Linked DNA regions of Homo sapiens: region 2 is linked to region 1. The links are contacts of gene promoters, found by promoter capture Hi-C in blood cells and fetal thymus (Javierre and others, 2016). All regions are on one chromosome and are shown on one strand. Each heading gives the region's core, a stretch centred on a gene start or on the middle of the fragment in contact. The rest is flanking DNA. Distances are from core to core; before and after follow the strand shown. Region 1 holds the start of RAB40AL (RAB40A like). Region 2 overlaps LL0XNC01-250H12.3 (a long non-coding RNA gene).

What was found. Contacts are between HindIII fragments. The CHiCAGO score rates a contact against its expected background, and 5 or more counts as called.
Region 2: a contact is called between a fragment that was not itself captured here and the fragment with the promoter of RAB40AL in region 1, in 1 of 17 cell types (total CD4 T cells). The highest score is 5.3, in total CD4 T cells.

What each region holds. Positions count from the first base shown.
Region 1 is chrX:102,936,017-102,938,716 of GRCh38, forward strand. RAB40AL (RAB40A like) reads left to right here and starts at 1,256. Exons shown (of 1, transcript NM_001031834.1): 1 at 1,256-2,284. The coding sequence starts at 1,303. The coding sequence ends at 2,139. All of the region lies in intron 10 of LINC00630 (long intergenic non-protein coding RNA 630), which reads left to right. The HindIII fragment of the contact is 15,007 bases long and covers 1-2,700 here.
Region 2 is chrX:103,478,536-103,481,235 of GRCh38, forward strand. All of the region lies in intron 4 of LL0XNC01-250H12.3 (a long non-coding RNA gene), which reads left to right. Among named protein-coding and RNA genes, the nearest start is that of RAB40A, 40 kb to the right of the region's middle. The HindIII fragment of the contact is 607 bases long and covers 1,035-1,641 here.

The DNA of each region.
Region 1 (2,700 bases), core at 6-2,505:
CATTACATGCTTACACATCTATCCCTTGGGGCTTGATTTCAATAATTTAAACTCCCTTATATGTGTCTGAGCATTCTCATTCCTTTAACCATCTTTATACCTGTTGTAGTTACAATATTTAAATGCATTTATAACTGAGAAGTGTGTTTCCATTTCCTTGATGTATTTGGTCCCTCATCCTGCCCCCATACACAGACACACACAGAGCCACTTTTACCTTTTTCTTTTGCAAATTAAAAAAAAATTCTTATTCAGTTTTTTCTACATTGAAATTTTGTCAAACGATAGGTGATAAAAGTATATTTAGATAGTTGCATTTGCATTCCTTATATATTAGTGAGCTAGAATGCATTTTCTTATGATTATTGGCCATTTGCATTTCATCATCCATGAACCATTTATATATTTTGTCAGTTTTGCTGTTTTGTTATAGGATCTGTACGTGTGTTAAATCTAAAACCCTTCATTGATCTATGCATGCGTTATTTCAACACATCTTTCTTGGCTGAATATTATTTATGAGACACTCTAGAAAAATCCATATCCTAGATGTTTCTTCTGAGATCTTGGCTCTTATATTTATGGGAGATGTCCCCCTGCAGCAAAAAATGTGTTAGTGCCCATGCAAACATGCGTGGCTTGTCAAGGATCACATGCACAGACAGTTCACACTTACTCCTAAACCCGGCATGGCCACAGAGTAGAAAGGATGTGTGGGGCATTATATAAGGAGAGCACTGGCTCAGGATTGTGATTTCTGTGATCTCTATACTAACGGCAAGATTTTTAAAAATTACGTAACATTTCTGAGTTTGCCTTTTCTCATTTGTAAAATGAAAACAATCATAGCTACCAAAGACAATTGTTCTGAGAAGTAAAAGAACAAATTATTTTAAGCGTCATACACAGCGTAGGGTACATACGGTACTCAACACATCTTAGTCTGCTTCCTATCTCATACCCGTCCTTCCTTTAAAGGAGATTCCTTTGACATAATCCAAAAGGCATGGTTCCATAACGATCACATGAAAGTTTTAAGGGAAATGTATAGGTTTCCATGATGAATTAACTGCTGTGTCACTACTCTGTGCTGGGTAAGAAAAAGGAAAACAATCGCTGAACCGGTTTCCCAGGGTTTGTAAAAGAAAACCATCAAAGCCACCACCTCATTTCACTTTATTTCGTAGACTTCCCCATCCCATTTTTTATGTTCTATGCTAATTTCTCAAGAAAAATAGGCCCGGCACCGCCTCTGCGCACAACCTTGCTGGTCTGGCCCAGGCGGGGGGCGGGGCCAGCACGATGAGCGCCCCGGGCAGCCCCGACCAGGCCTACGACTTCCTGCTCAAGTTCCTGCTGGTGGGCGACAGGGACGTAGGCAAGAGTGAGATCCTGGAGAGCCTGCAGGACGGCACGGCCGAGTCCCCGTACAGTCACCTGGGGGGAATCGACTACAAGACGACCACCATCCTGCTGGACGGCCAGCGGGTGAAGCTGAAGCTCTGGGATACGTCGGGGCAGGGAAGATTTTGTACCATATTCCGCTCCTACTCTCGTGGTGCACAAGGAGTGATCCTGGTCTACGACATTGCAAACCGCTGGTCTTTCGAGGGTATGGATCGATGGATTAAGAAGATTGAGGAACATGCCCCTGGTGTCCCTAAAATCCTGGTGGGGAATCGCCTACATCTGGCATTCAAGAGGCAGGTGCCCAGGGAGCAGGCCCAGGCCTACGCCGAGCGCCTGGGCGTGACCTTCTTTGAGGTCAGCCCTCTGTGCAATTTCAACATCATAGAGTCTTTCACGGAGCTGGCCAGGATAGTGCTGCTGCGGCACAGGTTGAACTGGCTCGGGAGGCCGAGCAAGGTACTGAGCTTGCAAGACCTCTGCTGCCGCACCATCGTGTCCTGCACACCTGTGCATCTGGTGGACAAGCTCCCGCTCCCCATTGCCTTAAGAAGCCACCTCAAGTCCTTCTCCATGGCTAAGGGCCTGAATGCCAGGATGATGCGAGGCCTCTCCTACTCCCTCACCACCAGCTCCACTCACAAAAGGAGCAGCCTCTGCAAAGTGAAGATCGTCTGCCCACCCCAGAGCCCACCCAAAAACTGCACCAGAAACAGCTGCAAAATTTCTTAAGGAAGGCACCAAAAGGAAACAAGCTGGAATCGCTCCAGGAAAAACTCTGAATGGTTACACCTGGAAGAGGGAAGATGCATTCTAGATTCAAAGAAATACGTTTTCAGTTTCTCATGGGAACAATGCTGCTTGGGAATGTGTGTGATGCCTTCTGTCAATAAAAGCACTTTACGCAGTTTGACTTTGAATTTCTACGTGGATGTGCATGTGTTTATAAAGGGGAAATTAGTACTCTGCTTAACTCTTGATAACATGAAATTTTGAATGTTACTTATATCATAATCACACTGCATCTTTTTCCTTAAAATAACCGCTTTTGTAAGAATGGTGATATGACAGTGATGAGTATAAATTCAAGGGAATTTGAGATGCAATGATAGTGAGATCATTCCGAGTCATTGATATTACTAGAGGGGACTTTTTGTAAACCTCCTTTTTGATGTCAAAGCACCAATTTATAAAACACTGCAGATGCATATAGAGATTATACGTAACAGATCTGTCCAGTTTGTGCACGAAATGGATTTGATAAAGTTTTTGCTATGTTATTTTACTACATTT
Region 2 (2,700 bases), core at 88-2,587, 540 kb after region 1:
AATCTGTTCAAACAGCTGCCTCTGTTACCTTGACTTCTCTCAGATTTTGTCGACCCGAGATGGGTCCTATTGTAAAACTGTGTCTATTATTTTGGCTTGCTCCAGCAAGGGAGAAGCCCACACAAGGCTCCTACTGACCATATGTGTCATTTCTAGCTTTGATGTCTGGGCAACAATTTCCCTAGGTTTAACTATTTGCTCAATGTTAAGGCAGCGCTGTGGAAATTTGTCTGTGTAACTGGGGTGCTATGCAGGCCTGTCTGTGTGACTGTCATGCAGGCCTGCCTATGTGATTGTCAGGGAGAATTGACTTGCCACAATATGATCAAAGTCTTTGGTCATTTAAGTTCAGTTCTGTAGTATTGTCTATAAATATAAGGAAATTATATAGCCTTTCACTAGGTCATGTGTTTGATTTCCTCTTCCTATTTATTTAGTAGTTAGCATGGTTATTGTTTTGTTTCAGTGGTTACTTTTATATTAAATCCTTAACACTACATCCTTGATATGGAATGAAGTCTTACTAATGAATAGAGAAAATAATATTAACAGATAATTCACATTAAAAAACAATTGTATACCCATTAAATTTTCAAAACTATGCCAGATTACAATAACTAAAGGACTGAAAACTAATATCCTAGGCTACCATGCTGAGTGAGAAAGAAAAATTGCTGAAACATACATATAATCTGATAACTTTGGGAAATAATATATATAAATGAGTATTTTGTGTAATACCCCATTCCTGCCTCTTGATAGCTGAATATGACCCTCTAGCAGTGAGTTACCCTTATTGAACCTGACCTTGCTAACCTATAAAATGGGCATAATGACATTTACTTCAGAGAGCCAAGAGGAGGAATGAGCAAACGTAAATAAAGCACATGGTACCTAATACTTCAACAAATATATGTATAATCTCCCTTATGTTCTCCCTCCCACAAGAGATGACTTAAACATCAACATCTCAAAGAGATCAATGGATTTGAACCATCAGAAAAAGAAATGCATACATATTTATATGACGTATAAGCTTTGGTGCTATTTCTTTCTAAGATGAGATACTGAGGATGGTGGAAATAAGGAAGCAAATTATAGCCTCATTACTTTTTATTTGTTGTGTTCTTCTCTTCTTTTTAAACTTCTATTTGGATGCTGAAATAGCAGCTTCCCACTGTGGGCCAGAAAGGAGACAGCACAGAATAACAGAACATGAAGATGGGTCTGCTGTGCAATGGACTGAAATCAGGAGACCTTGGCCCCCAATACCAGATCTGTCCTCGTGTACAGGACCATGGGGAGTCACTTCCCCTGTGTTGGTCTCTGTCCTTACACAGAAAAAGATTGTATACCTAATGGTTAAGGACGTGGGCATTGGCATCAGTAAAGTGAGGAGAAAATTGGGGCACATTTAATTACTGGTTTTATGATGTTTAGGAAATGTTGAGTCTCCAGATAAATGAAACTCATACATTAAATATGACTGCGTAGAGAATAAAACGGGAGGAACTGCACAAAAAAGGATACATTCTTCAAAATTAATGAGCGGTGGGTCGGTACTTAATTCTTTATCTCTTGACTTAACTATGTTTTCCACAATTTCTAAATTAGTATGGTTCTTTTTAAAAGTCAGAAGTAAGCTTCATTGAAACAGTTGTTATGAAATATTTCAGAAATACAAAAATTATAGAATGTAAGAGACATCCCTGTTCTCATGTTGACATACCTAATATTATATATGCAGTTGAAACTCACTTTGAAGACTTCTCTGATTGCAAGCCTCCTTCTTTCTCAGAGGTAACCACTATGCAGAATTCGGGTTTTAGATTTTAAAGACATTTCCCTATACTTTTATTACATATGCATATATCTGTAAGTGAGAATGGTATTGTTTTGTAGCATGTTTTTTCTATAGATGCCTGGCTACCTCATGGAAAAAAAGGAAAAAAAATGAAGAAACATGAGGAGAACAAACACACAATCACATTTCAACAGTGGGAGCTGCATGGCCTCCTTGTCATGTGTACTCTTGCAGACTTACTAAAACAGACATATCCATTTTCTCAGTTTATACGCTATAGGGAGCACAAACAACCTGTAGATACTGTTTTCAAATGCTTTTTCCCAGCGTGTTCAAAGTCTTAGAGTTTCTCTGGAGCTAACTGGCCTAAAACAATGTCTCAGTGTTTCCTGATATGAAACAACTTCCCATTTGTCTGGGCCAAATTATCTGTCTTTCATGCTCACTGTAACCCTTCAAGGCCTAATCCAGAACCTAATCTGGGCTATGCTGGTAAAAGATATGCCAGTCTACCACCCAAATCCCTTATTGGCTTAGGGGTGAATCTTATTTAGAACTTGATCTGATTTTGTGTTAGAATTGTTGGGTTTGTGTATATTTTCCTTCCTTTTCTTCTAATATTTTTAATTGCACAGGGAAGGTATTTCGCAAGTGTTTTAATTCACATGTGCTGATTGTTCCTGCAGTTCTTTGCTGAGTGAGACTGTGACTCAACTTTTACCCCAAACCCAGCTGTGTTAGGATCCTTCCTCTCTGGAAGCTGTGGTGCTGACCCCTGGGTGGTTTCATGCAGTCCCTCCCTCTTTCCCACCCCTGTGGCAGTCACTGCTTGGCTAACTAGGTGGGTAAACAGAGGAGCCTACTCTCCATTCAAGGGGCTTTCTTTGGGAGAGTGC